Regions from separate parts of the Homo sapiens genome. Here region 1 is linked to region 2. Evidence: promoter capture Hi-C in 16 types of primary human blood cells and fetal thymus (Javierre and others, 2016). All regions are on one chromosome and are shown on one strand. Each heading gives the region's core, a stretch centred on a gene start or on the middle of the fragment in contact. The rest is flanking DNA. Distances are from core to core; before and after follow the strand shown. Region 1 holds the start of RDH5 (retinol dehydrogenase 5). Region 2 holds the start of PMEL (premelanosome protein).

The links. The method cuts DNA at HindIII sites, captures the fragments that hold promoters and counts their contacts. A CHiCAGO score of 5 or more calls a contact.
Region 1: a contact is called between a fragment that was not itself captured here and the fragment with the promoter of PMEL in region 2, in 7 of 17 cell types (naive CD4 T cells, naive CD8 T cells, activated CD4 T cells and 4 more). The highest score is 7.9, in naive CD4 T cells.

What each region holds. Positions count from the first base shown.
Region 1 is chr12:55,719,665-55,725,539 of GRCh38, forward strand. It overlaps RDH5 (retinol dehydrogenase 5), which reads left to right and starts at 729. Exons shown (of 5, transcript NM_002905.5): 1 at 729-853; 2 at 1,489-1,830; 3 at 2,025-2,283; 4 at 4,222-4,385; 5 at 4,658-5,041. The coding sequence starts at 1,521. The coding sequence ends at 4,881. BLOC1S1-RDH5 (BLOC1S1-RDH5 readthrough) reads left to right here. Exons shown (of 6, transcript NR_037658.1): 4 at 2,025-2,283; 5 at 4,222-4,385; 6 at 4,658-5,078. It overlaps BLOC1S1 (biogenesis of lysosomal organelles complex 1 subunit 1), which reads left to right. Exons shown (of 4, transcript NM_001487.4): 4 at 1-39. It overlaps CD63 (CD63 molecule), which reads right to left. Exons shown (of 8, transcript NM_001780.6): 8 at 5,659-5,875. RefSeq lists an enhancer at 1,164-1,792. The HindIII fragment of the contact is 1,627 bases long and covers 812-2,438 here.
Region 2 is chr12:55,964,293-55,969,758 of GRCh38, forward strand. PMEL (premelanosome protein) reads right to left here and starts at 1,750. Exons shown (of 11, transcript NM_001384361.1): 1 at 1,644-1,750. The coding sequence starts at 1,719. CDK2 (cyclin dependent kinase 2) reads left to right here and starts at 2,538. Exons shown (of 7, transcript NM_001798.5): 1 at 2,538-2,832; 2 at 3,565-3,642; 3 at 3,757-3,877; 4 at 4,486-4,656; 5 at 5,183-5,284. The coding sequence starts at 2,717. RefSeq lists an enhancer at 2,229-2,308. The HindIII fragment of the contact is 16,386 bases long and covers 1-5,466 here.

The DNA.
Region 1 (5,875 bases), core at 375-2,874, 240 kb before region 2:
GGAGGCTGACAAGCCTTGAATAAAACACAAGCCTCCGTTTCTCTGTGGTGTGTTTCAGAGAGCTACTAGCTCCAGTGTCGGGGGTGGGAGTGGAAGGTTCAAAGGTGGTTTCCCTGAGGGACAGGTACCTTTTGGGGAGAGGGTGGAACTAGCTTCCTCTTACTATCCCAACTCTCTTCTCCTCCATGGCCCTTGTGCAGGTGTCTGTTAGGCAAGCAGAGGGTGGGAGTTCCCATCCCTCCTGAGAGAAGGTCCTAGTAGCCCTGCCCCAAGCTTCCTAATTCAGGACTTGTTTCCTACAGAAGAGAAACAAGGCAAGGTACAGGCCTGGTCCCCAGCTCTGGCTTTCTGCCTCTCCACGTGCTCATGGCCTCTCCCAGGCTAACTCTAAGCAGTGTCATGAGTCTGAGCCAGGTGGGAGATTAATTCCTGGGGGCACTTCAGGGCTGAGAAGGGGGAGGAATGACAGGTCCAGTAACCGTTACCAACAGAGCAGTGCAGCTGCCATCCTTGACAGCTCCCTCCTCCTTGGAGACCATGACATAGATGGTCAGGAACCCAGGCTGAGAAAGACAGCCAAGGGGTGGGGGGAGCCTAGGCAAATCTGGCCTCTGCCAAGTCCTGGCTTCAGCCAGGCAAGCTCCAGCCTCCCTGGCTCCTCCTCCTCCTCAGTCCTATCCCCACCCTGTCACACATACACTTAATACGCCTGGCATCCAAGTCCACCCACTCCGGACTTTGGCCTTAGCAGTAGTTAGTGTGGGAGGCTGGGAAGACTGGGAGCAGTCTCTTAAACAAAAGCAAAAGAATAAGCTTCGGGCGCTGTAGTACCTGCCAGCTTTCGCCACAGGAGGTAAGTGGATACTGGGAGCTGGGGGAACTGAGAAGACTAGCCAGATATTACATGTATTGCCAACTCAAAACTTTCAGCTTTTAACATGCTTCCTCACACATTATCCCCTTTGATCCTCCACAACTCTGAGGTGGACCTGGTGGGTCTTAGCCCCACTTGGTAGATGAGAAAATAGGTTGAGAGAGACAGTGAGATGCTCAGTATCACACAGCAAACCTCTTGGCCCTATACATCATTCCAAACACAAGACCCAGGTTGCATATAGAAGGTTCAGTGTCCCTGGTTTAGAAGGAGAGGTGGTGTGAGGCAAGCAAGAAGATGCCTCTGCTGCACTCCAGCCTGGGCGACAGAGTGAGACTCCATCTCAAAAAAAAAAAAAAAAAAAAAAAGATGCCTCTGCTCCATACAGCAGGTCTGTACACAGGATCTGGCTCATGTGGTTTTAGTTAAGTTAGCCACAAATACAGGGTCTGCCCACATCTTTGCTTTGAACAGATGAGCCATGGTTGGCCAATTATCTGCCAACCAGATAATTTCTCAATATGCTCACACCAGATGCTTCCAGCTAGGGAGGGTATTAGGGGAAAGGGCTTGAGGGCCACAGTAAACTGGACAAGTTTTTCTGCCCAGCCTAGGCTGCCACCTGTAGGTCACTTGGGCTCCAGCTATGTGGCTGCCTCTTCTGCTGGGTGCCTTACTCTGGGCAGTGCTGTGGTTGCTCAGGGACCGGCAGAGCCTGCCCGCCAGCAATGCCTTTGTCTTCATCACCGGCTGTGACTCAGGCTTTGGGCGCCTTCTGGCACTGCAGCTGGACCAGAGAGGCTTCCGAGTCCTGGCCAGCTGCCTGACCCCCTCCGGGGCCGAGGACCTGCAGCGGGTGGCCTCCTCCCGCCTCCACACCACCCTGTTGGATATCACTGATCCCCAGAGCGTCCAGCAGGCAGCCAAGTGGGTGGAGATGCACGTTAAGGAAGCAGGTAAGTATGGTAGACCACCAGGAATATGGTGTGGGGTGTCCTGATCCCCACAGTCACCCCAGGAGTCACCTGCAAGGGCTGTGGTAAGCTAAAGGGACAATTTGAGGAGAAGCAGTTTTCAGATGCTCCCAGGAAGAAGAGGGAGCTGTGGGAGTGCCTCACCTACCCCCAGCATCCTTTTCATCTCCCCACAGGGCTTTTTGGTCTGGTGAATAATGCTGGTGTGGCTGGTATCATCGGACCCACACCATGGCTGACCCGGGACGATTTCCAGCGGGTGCTGAATGTGAACACAATGGGTCCCATCGGGGTCACCCTTGCCCTGCTGCCTCTGCTGCAGCAAGCCCGGGGCCGGGTGATCAACATCACCAGCGTCCTGGGTCGCCTGGCAGCCAATGGTGGGGGCTACTGTGTCTCCAAATTTGGCCTGGAGGCCTTCTCTGACAGCCTGAGGTGAGGGGTACAGGGCTCTGGGTTCCAGGACTAACAGCAGCCCACTCAACAAACGTGGGCCAGCAGAGGTGGTTAAGATACAGCACATTGGAATAGTTAAGAAGAGACAGTTTAGGGCTAGACTTCATGGGTTCAATGAAGTCTACCCTTATGTAAGCTTTGTGACCATAAGTAGATTACTTCTCTTTACCCATTTTTAACGTGTTTGTTTTTTGTTTTTTGAGATGGAGTCTTGCTCTGTCGCCAGGCTGGAGTGCAGTGGCGCGATCTTGGCTCACCACAATTTCCACCCCCGGGGTTCAAGCGATTCTCCTGCCTCAGCCTCCCGAGTAGCTGGGACTACAGGCATGCGCCACCATGCCTGGCTTATTTTTGTATTTTTAGTAGAGACAGGGTTTCACTATGTTGGCCAGGTTGGTCTCAAACTCCTGACCTCGTGATCCGCCCACCTCAGCCTCCCAAAGTGCTGGGATTACAGGTGTGAGCCACCACGCCCGGCCTTGCCTCTCGTCTTTAAACAATAAGGTTCAAAGTTCCGTGGGAGCACAAAGGAGACATGATGAGGACAACGGGAGTAGGGCCTGAGTTTTTTTTTGTTTTTTTTTTTTTAAGCGTTTTGCTCTTGTTGCCTAGGCTGGAGTGCAATGGCGAGATCTCAGCTCACTGCAACCCCTGCCTCTCAGGTTCATGTGATTCTCCTGCCTCAGCCTCCCGATTAGCTGGGCTTACAGGCACGTGCCACCACTCCCAGCTAATTTTTTTGTATTTTTAGTAGAGATGGAGTTATACCATGTTGGCCAGGCTGGTTTTGAACTCCTGACCTCAGGTGATCCACCCGACCCGGCCTCCCAAAGTGCTGGGATTACAGGCATGAGCCACCACACACGGCCCAAGGCCTGAGTTCTTAGCAGGAGTATAAGGCGCCTAAGCTTAGTCTACCTTCTAAGGAAGCCTGCGTTTGTCACCATCACTCAGCAAATAACCTGAATGTCTCCTGTCTCTCAGCCTTAATTTTTCAGGCAGCATCATGGGACACATACTTTTAGTTTTGAGACAAGGCCTTGCTCTCACCCAGGGTGGAGTGCAGTGGTGCAGTCACGGCCCACTGAACTTCAAACTCCTAGGCTCAAGCAGCTCAAGCGATATCCGCCTCAGCCTCCTGAGTAGCTGAGACCACAGGCGCGTGCCAGCATGCCTGGCTAGTATTTTTTTACAGATGGGGTCTTGCTGTGGTGACCAGACTTGTCTCCAACTCCCGGCCTCAAGCGATGCTTCCGCCTGGGCCTCCCAAAGTGTTGGGATTATAGGTGTGAGCCACTGCATACTGGAACACATACTTTATACTTGAATTTTTTTTTATCCCCTTCCCTCCTGCTCCTTACCTATACTTGGATTTCTACATCTGTGCCAGGGCAGTGGGATGTATCCCCACTTTCCCCATCAGCTTACCCTCCAGCAAATACGAGACTATACCCTTCAATATCCAGCACTCAGGGCTCAACCATGTGTTTTGGGAGCAAGGGAATGGGGTTCCTCTAGGTCAGGAATCGGCAAACTCAGTACTCAAGCCAGATCTGGCCAGCTGCCTACAAGCTGATAATGGTTTTTTTTATTTTTAAATGGTTACATTGTAAACTGTTATATAAGTACCTGATAATATCATTAATTTTGTTTCTTGGCCTGCCATGCTTAAAATATTAACTCTCTGGCCCTTTAAGAAAAAAACGTGCTGACCCCTGCTCTAGATCAAAGAAAACAAACCTCAAAAATACTTTCCTCCCTCTACCCCACTTGACCCTTGTCCCGGGGCAGTAGGCATCTCCGTCAAAACTCTTGTCCCTGGTCTGTGGTAACTTTCTCAGCTCCCCAACCCATGTCCCTCAAAGTCCCCTCCCTATAGGGCAAGAACCCAGCAACTTCGCTCTGCCCCGACTCTAGGCGGGATGTAGCTCATTTTGGGATACGAGTCTCCATCGTGGAGCCTGGCTTCTTCCGAACCCCTGTGACCAACCTGGAGAGTCTGGAGAAAACCCTGCAGGCCTGCTGGGCACGGCTGCCTCCTGCCACACAGGCCCACTATGGGGGGGCCTTCCTCACCAAGTGTGAGTAGCCAGGCCCACACAGGGGCACATGAAGGGAAACAAGTACCAGAAAGGCCAGTCCTGCATAAGCCTGCTAGGAGGTGGGTGGGGCACCCAGGGCAGGGTTGAGGGTGAACAGGATGTTACAAGAGTGCCCAGGCCATGTGGAACCTGCCCACTCCCCACACTGAGGAGGGGACTGAGGGTGACAAGCCCAGGGCCCCAGAAGACAGTACCTAAGATGGGCTGGAGTGAGGAAGGGAAACTGATTGCAACCACCTATGGGGCTGCAGACCTGAAAATGCAACAGCGCATCATGAACCTGATCTGTGACCCGGACCTAACCAAGGTGAGCCGATGCCTGGAGCATGCCCTGACTGCTCGACACCCCCGAACCCGCTACAGCCCAGGTTGGGATGCCAAGCTGCTCTGGCTGCCTGCCTCCTACCTGCCAGCCAGCCTGGTGGATGCTGTGCTCACCTGGGTCCTTCCCAAGCCTGCCCAAGCAGTCTACTGAATCCAGCCTTCCAGCAAGAGATTGTTTTTCAAGGACAAGGACTTTGATTTATTTCTGCCCCCACCCTGGTACTGCCTGGTGCCTGCCACAAAATAAGCACTAACAAAAGTGTATTGTTTAAAAAATAAAAAGAAGGTGGGCAGAAATGTGCCCAGTGGAAGGCTGACCCCATTTAAGTGCCAACTACTCCAAACCGACATGCTCACGGTCTCTGGCCTGTTCAGTCCCTGCAAAACAGCTAGCACCCACAGTGGGGCGCCAGGGAACTGCCTCACATCTACAGCTGCACGTCGGGGAGTGGCCATCAAAGGGCACTTTAATACATTTCCCTTATTTTCTGAAGGGGAGTAAGGTTGCAATTCAGTGTCTGTACTGGGAATGGTCTTCATATTTCTTGGGGGAGAAGAGCAGGTGATGAGGGTTCTGGGCCAGGCTGGGTGGCTTCCATGGAAGAAAAGGCAATATTCACATAAATTCTCCTGCTAAGGACACTGACCACACAGGTGTCAAGGCAACTTATCATACTTCGAAAGGAGCTGGATCCCTTGAGGATTGGCCAGGAAGGGAGGTGCTGGGCCCTTAGCGGTGCACAGAAGGCCAGGAAGATGTCCAAGGCAGATGGGGGCTGGGCTCTCGCAGGTGGGACCTTTCTGGGGAGCTGCTTTGACTTATGCAGCAGATGGCTTCATGAATGTTCATAGTGAGCCTGGCAGCATAAGACTAGGGGGCAGAAAGCACCACAGTCTCTGGATCCTCACTTCTCCCACTGCCTGCCCAACCAACACCTTCGCAAAGTCCTCCTTTCCCAAACACCCCCCAAAATAGACCTCGAAGTACACATGCATTAAGGTCCCAGAGGACAGGGAACATCAGTAAGGAAAGGAAGGAATCAAGCATCACTCTAAGACAAACTCAGACCATCTCTTTTCGGTCTGAAAAAATAATCCGTTTAATTGAAAAACCTGGAGGATACTATTCCACTCCCCCAGATGAG
Region 2 (5,466 bases), core at 500-2,999:
TGGGATTACAGGCATGCACCACCACGCCCAGCTAATTTTGTATTTTTAGTAGAGACTGGGTTTCTCTATGTTGGTCAGGCTGGTCTCAAACTCCCAACTTCAGCTGATCCACCTGCCTTGGTCTCGCAAAGTGCTGGGATTACAGGCGTGAGCCACCAAGCCTGGCCTAGGCCTGGCTAATTTTTTTACGTTTCGTAGAGACAAGGTCTCACTATGTTGCTCAGGCTGGTCTTGAACTCCTGGGCTCAAGCAATCCTATGACCACGGCCTCCCAAAGTGCTGGGATTACAGGTGTGAGCCACTACACCCGGCCTCCTTATCTCTTTTCTTTTCTTTTCTTTTTTTATTTTTTTGAGACAGAGTCTTGCTGTTGCCCAGGCTGGAATGCAATGGTGTGATCTCGGCTCACTGCAACCTCTGCCTCCCAGGTTCAAGCGATTCTCATGCCTCGGCCTCCCAAGTAGTTGGGATTACAGGTGCGTACCACCATGCCCAGCTAATTTTTGTATTTTTAGTAGAGATGGAGTTTCACCATATTGGCCAGGCTGGTCTGACCTCAAGTGATCCACCCGTCTCAGCCTCTCAAAGTGCTAGGATTACAGGCATGAGTTACTGTGCCGGGCCTCATCCCCTTTCTTTTTTTTTTTTTTTTTGAGACGGAGACTCGCTCTGTCACCCAGGCTGGAGTGCATTGGTGTGATCTTGGCTCACTGCAACCTCTGCCTTCTGGGTTCAAGTGATTCTCCAGCCTCAGCCTTCTGAGTAGCTGGGACTACAGGCATGTGCCACCATGCCCAGCTAATTTTTGTACTTTTAGTAGAGACGGGGGTTTCACCATATTGGCCAGGCTGGTCTCGAACTCCTGACCTCGTGATCCACCTGCTTCAGCCTCCCAAAGTGCTGGGATTACAGGCGTGAGCCACGGCGCCCGGCCTCATTCCCTTTCTAATGTGTGCTGTAACCCTAGTTGATTCTGCTGGGGGAGGATCTGGAATCATCTATTGAGCATCCCACCACTAGAACAAGAGAAGTCATAAGATACCCCATTCTTTCTCCACTTCCAACTCTCCTCAGAGCAGCACGGGACATTCCAGACCCTCTCACCACCCCACCCCCGCCCCTTGCTCCTGTCACGAGGCCCAATCCCCCAGAGCCCTTTCATGTGATGCTCAGCTGAGACCCCTCTGCCTATCTCTCCAGCCCCAGAACAAAAGGTCTGGGCTGTGTTCACCCGTACCCATCCCAAGAGGAGAGGATTGTATCTCCTTAGTGTTCTTACCCAATACCACATTCTCTGACTCCCCACTTTAAATCTCCTACCCCAAGAGACGTTTCCTAAAAGAGTCTCCTGCACATTTCACCCCTTTGGAGCCCGTGCTCCAGCTCACTGCCAAGGAAGCCTCAGAATCAGTGCCACAGAGACCTTCTATCCTTCTGCCCCTCCAAGCATATGAGATTATTTTCAGGCAAAATCCCAAATCTCCATGTAGGGAGGGAGCCCAGGTGCCCACATCCTCACTAAATCAAATGAGTGGGAGACGCCTGAAATATTGCCGCTATCTCCCATTAGGAGGACAGAAACCAGAGCAGGGGGAATTCATCCCCAAGTTCACACCTGCTCATGTCCACATATCCACACATACCTTTTGTAGCCCCCACAGCCAGCAAAGCACCTATCACAGCCAAATGAAGAAGGCATCTTTTTAGCACCAGATCCATTGTGTTCTTCCCTCCAGCAACCAAAGGCACTGGGGGGACTGGGATAGGCCCCTATATAAGAAAAGGGTGCTCATTTGCATAGCCCTTCCTCTTCTCCCTCAGAGAAGGCCTGGGAGGGGCCGGAGGAGAGGAAAAAGGAAAAACTGACAAAGGGATCCTGGTCCCTAGACATTGCTTTCCCATCCTGCTACTCAATGACAGTTTCTGGTTTCACTGGGTCACTCTCATCTTGATGCACTCCCGGGCAAGAGCTAACTGAAAGGCAGCTGCGTAACACATACCAGACACAACAGTTTATCATGGGAGAGTGAATTAAACCAGGAACTTCTCAAAAAGACAGAAACAGAACCCTGCATCCCAAAACAGAGACAGTGTCGGGGTATGCTATGAGGCAGAGGCAACGACTCCTCTGAGGCCCAGGATTCCTTTGCAACGAGATTCCCGGCTTCCTGGTTTCCAAAGGAGGCTCCTGGGCCAGGTGGAATTTAACCTTAGGTCGATACATATTTTCCCCAGGATTGGTGAAAATAGTGAGTTAGAAATCAAGAAATCCCTACAGACTAGAGACATAGGTAGGAAACTTGGACCCAAAGCAGGTACTTGGGAAGAGTGTTCAGCCGCCCCACCGGGGAAGAAACTTGTCTAGCCCCCAAGAACCAAACTTGCCTGGGGCGGGATCATTTGCGGGGAGGAGCGCTGGGCTCGCCCCCCGGCTCTGACGTTGACCAATAGAAAGGCCTGGGGGCGGAGCCAGGGAAACGCGGGAAGCAGGGGCGGGGCCTCTGGTGGCGGTCGGGAACTCGGTGGGAGGCGGCAACATTGTTTCAAGTTGGCCAAATTGACAAGAGCGAGAGGTATACTGCGTTCCATCCCGACCCGGGGCCACGGTACTGGGCCCTGTTTCCCCCTCCTCGGCCCCCGAGAGCCAGGGTCCGCCTTCTGCAGGGTTCCCAGGCCCCCGCTCCAGGGCCGGGCTGACCCGACTCGCTGGCGCTTCATGGAGAACTTCCAAAAGGTGGAAAAGATCGGAGAGGGCACGTACGGAGTTGTGTACAAAGCCAGAAACAAGTTGACGGGAGAGGTGGTGGCGCTTAAGAAAATCCGCCTGGACACGTGAGTGGCCTCTGTACCCGGGACTCCTAACTGGGGACCTCCTTGATTGTCCCCCCCAACCCCCCACGGGCGGGTAGCCGTCCAGGGACCGGAAGAGAGCAGGGAGGGACTTCTTTAGAAGTGGAGAGGTGGGTTGGGGGCCAGTAGAAGGTGAAGAGTATACTTATACTCCCTGGGGAGAGTATAGGGTGGTGTGGAATCCATGGAAAACTTTCTTCCCAAACTGAGCCGGATCGTGCCCCCAAATGTGCGACTACAGACTCGGGGAGAGAAAGGAGGTCTCTGAGATGAGGTCCAAGACTCTCCATGGAGTGGAGTTATGTGGGAACCGGCGAGAATCGCCTTTCTGAATGAAGAGCCCTCTTCACTGCCCCACCCTCACCTTAGAATTCTCTCCTCTTTCCAAAGAATGGCAGTTGAACCTCACTGGCCCCTCTGGGGAGGCTGGGGGCTACTCCTGCATTTTTTCCCCTCCATTACAGTCTCCCTGCTTCACCTTCACCAGGCGGCTTTACTTACCTACCCCTGGGAAAAGAGGAGATAATGGCCTTAATATATCCAAAAACCACACCCTGACTACCCAAGAATTAGCTCTTACCATCACCCTTTCTCTTCTCTCACTTTCCTAGGGGGTGCTGGGTGGTGTCTCCTTGGGGGAAAGAAATGACTAGGTGGGGGGGAAAGGAATATTTGTAACCATATTCCCATCTCTGCTTTCCCAACCTCTCCAAGTGAGACTGAGGGTGTGCCCAGTACTGCCATCCGAGAGATCTCTCTGCTTAAGGAGCTTAACCATCCTAATATTGTCAAGTAAGTATGCGTCTGAGAGGTGATCCAGCTGGAAAGGAGGATAAGTTCTGTCTGTACAGTGTGGGCATTTCTCTCTCTCACACACCTCCATTTCCTCAAACTTTCCTTCTCTAGGCTGCTGGATGTCATTCACACAGAAAATAAACTCTACCTGGTTTTTGAATTTCTGCACCAAGATCTCAAGAAATTCATGGATGCCTCTGCTCTCACTGGCATTCCTCTTCCCCTCATCAAGGTAATGCTTCTCATCAGCTCCTCTCATCATGGGCATGTCTTGGGGGACTGGTGGCAGGCAATTCAGGGTGATATTTTATGATTTTGGCCTCCTTCTGAGCCCTCATCTCCTATACACACACACTCCCCTTCTTTTTGTGTCTCCTTCCCTGCTCATTATATTCATTAACCCTAGGGTTGGACTGAACAATCAAAGTTGAAACTCTAGTGAGTCAACCTAGCAACTCAGGTGGGAGGTCAGATGAAACTCAGATAAACGGGATTTGAGAGCACTTGGTAAATTCCTCCAAAAAGCCCTTCCATTTGGTGGAAGACCTAGCTAGTGAGTCCCTATTGTCTATTTTAGGGCTGGATTCTTCACTCCCAGAGCTACTTTCAATCTATTAACAAACATTTTTTCAATGCACAGGATGTAGAAAAGGGATGGAAAATTGAGTAAGACTTGGTCCTTATCCTCTCTGGGCTGACAGTCCATTGGGAGAAATAGCTTGTAAATATGTAACTATAATCCAACATAATAAAGGCTTTAGTAGAGTTTTAGGGGCACAGAGCAAACCCAGTCTGCTCACTGTAATGGAGAAACACAGTCCTCTCTTTCTCCTTTGTCAGAGCTATCTGTTCCAGCTGCTCCAGGGCCTAGCTTTCTGCCATTCTCATCGGGTCCTCCACCGAGACCTTAAACCTCAGAATCTGCTTATTAACACAGAGGGGGCCATCAAGCTAGCAGACTTTGGACTAGCCAGAGCTTTTGGAGTCCCTGTTCGTACTTACACCCATGAGGTGAGTCCCTTTATGTCTTTTTTCTCTGAGCTTCCCAAGAGGTGTTAACTAGGGTATTCACAAAGTTACTAAAAATATCTGGCTAACAGTTTCTTACTAGGTAGAAATAATCTCTTGACATCCTAAAGAGTCTTAGGGTATGCATGGAATTCATACTGTGTTGCTAACTGGGCCCACACCTGTAATACCAATACTTTGGGAGGCTGAGGTGGGAGGATCACTTGAGCCCAGGAGTTCGAGACCATCATGGGCAACATAGCGAGACCCCATCTCTACAAATCTACAAAAAGAAAAAATTTAGAAATAAAATTATGACCAATTTGTCTCAAGTTTTTCCAGGAAGATCTCAAATTAGGGGTTCAGTCCAGAACTATGGACTGGAAATCAGTGGGAGGGGAAAGATGATGGAGGGAAGGAAACTGCTTGTTAAGAGGCCAAGAGTAAGCAGAGTAGTGTTGAGGAACTGAGATGCGGGAATTTCCATACCCTATAAACCACCCCGCCCCTCCCTATTCCCGTCCCTCAGGTGGTGACCCTGTGGTACCGAGCTCCTGAAATCCTCCTGGGCTGCAAATATTATTCCACAGCTGTGGACATCTGGAGCCTGGGCTGCATCTTTGCTGAGATGGTATGGAGGCTTGCCCAAGTTCCACCCAGCCCCCTCCCTCTCCTCCCCACATCCAAGAACAACAGAACTGCTTCTTGGCCCAGACCTATGGCCCTTCTATCACAGGGTTCTCTCTCTAAAGTAGCACCAAGGGGAATGGTGGGAAAGGATGCAACTGTTGCCCTGATATCAACCACAGTGTT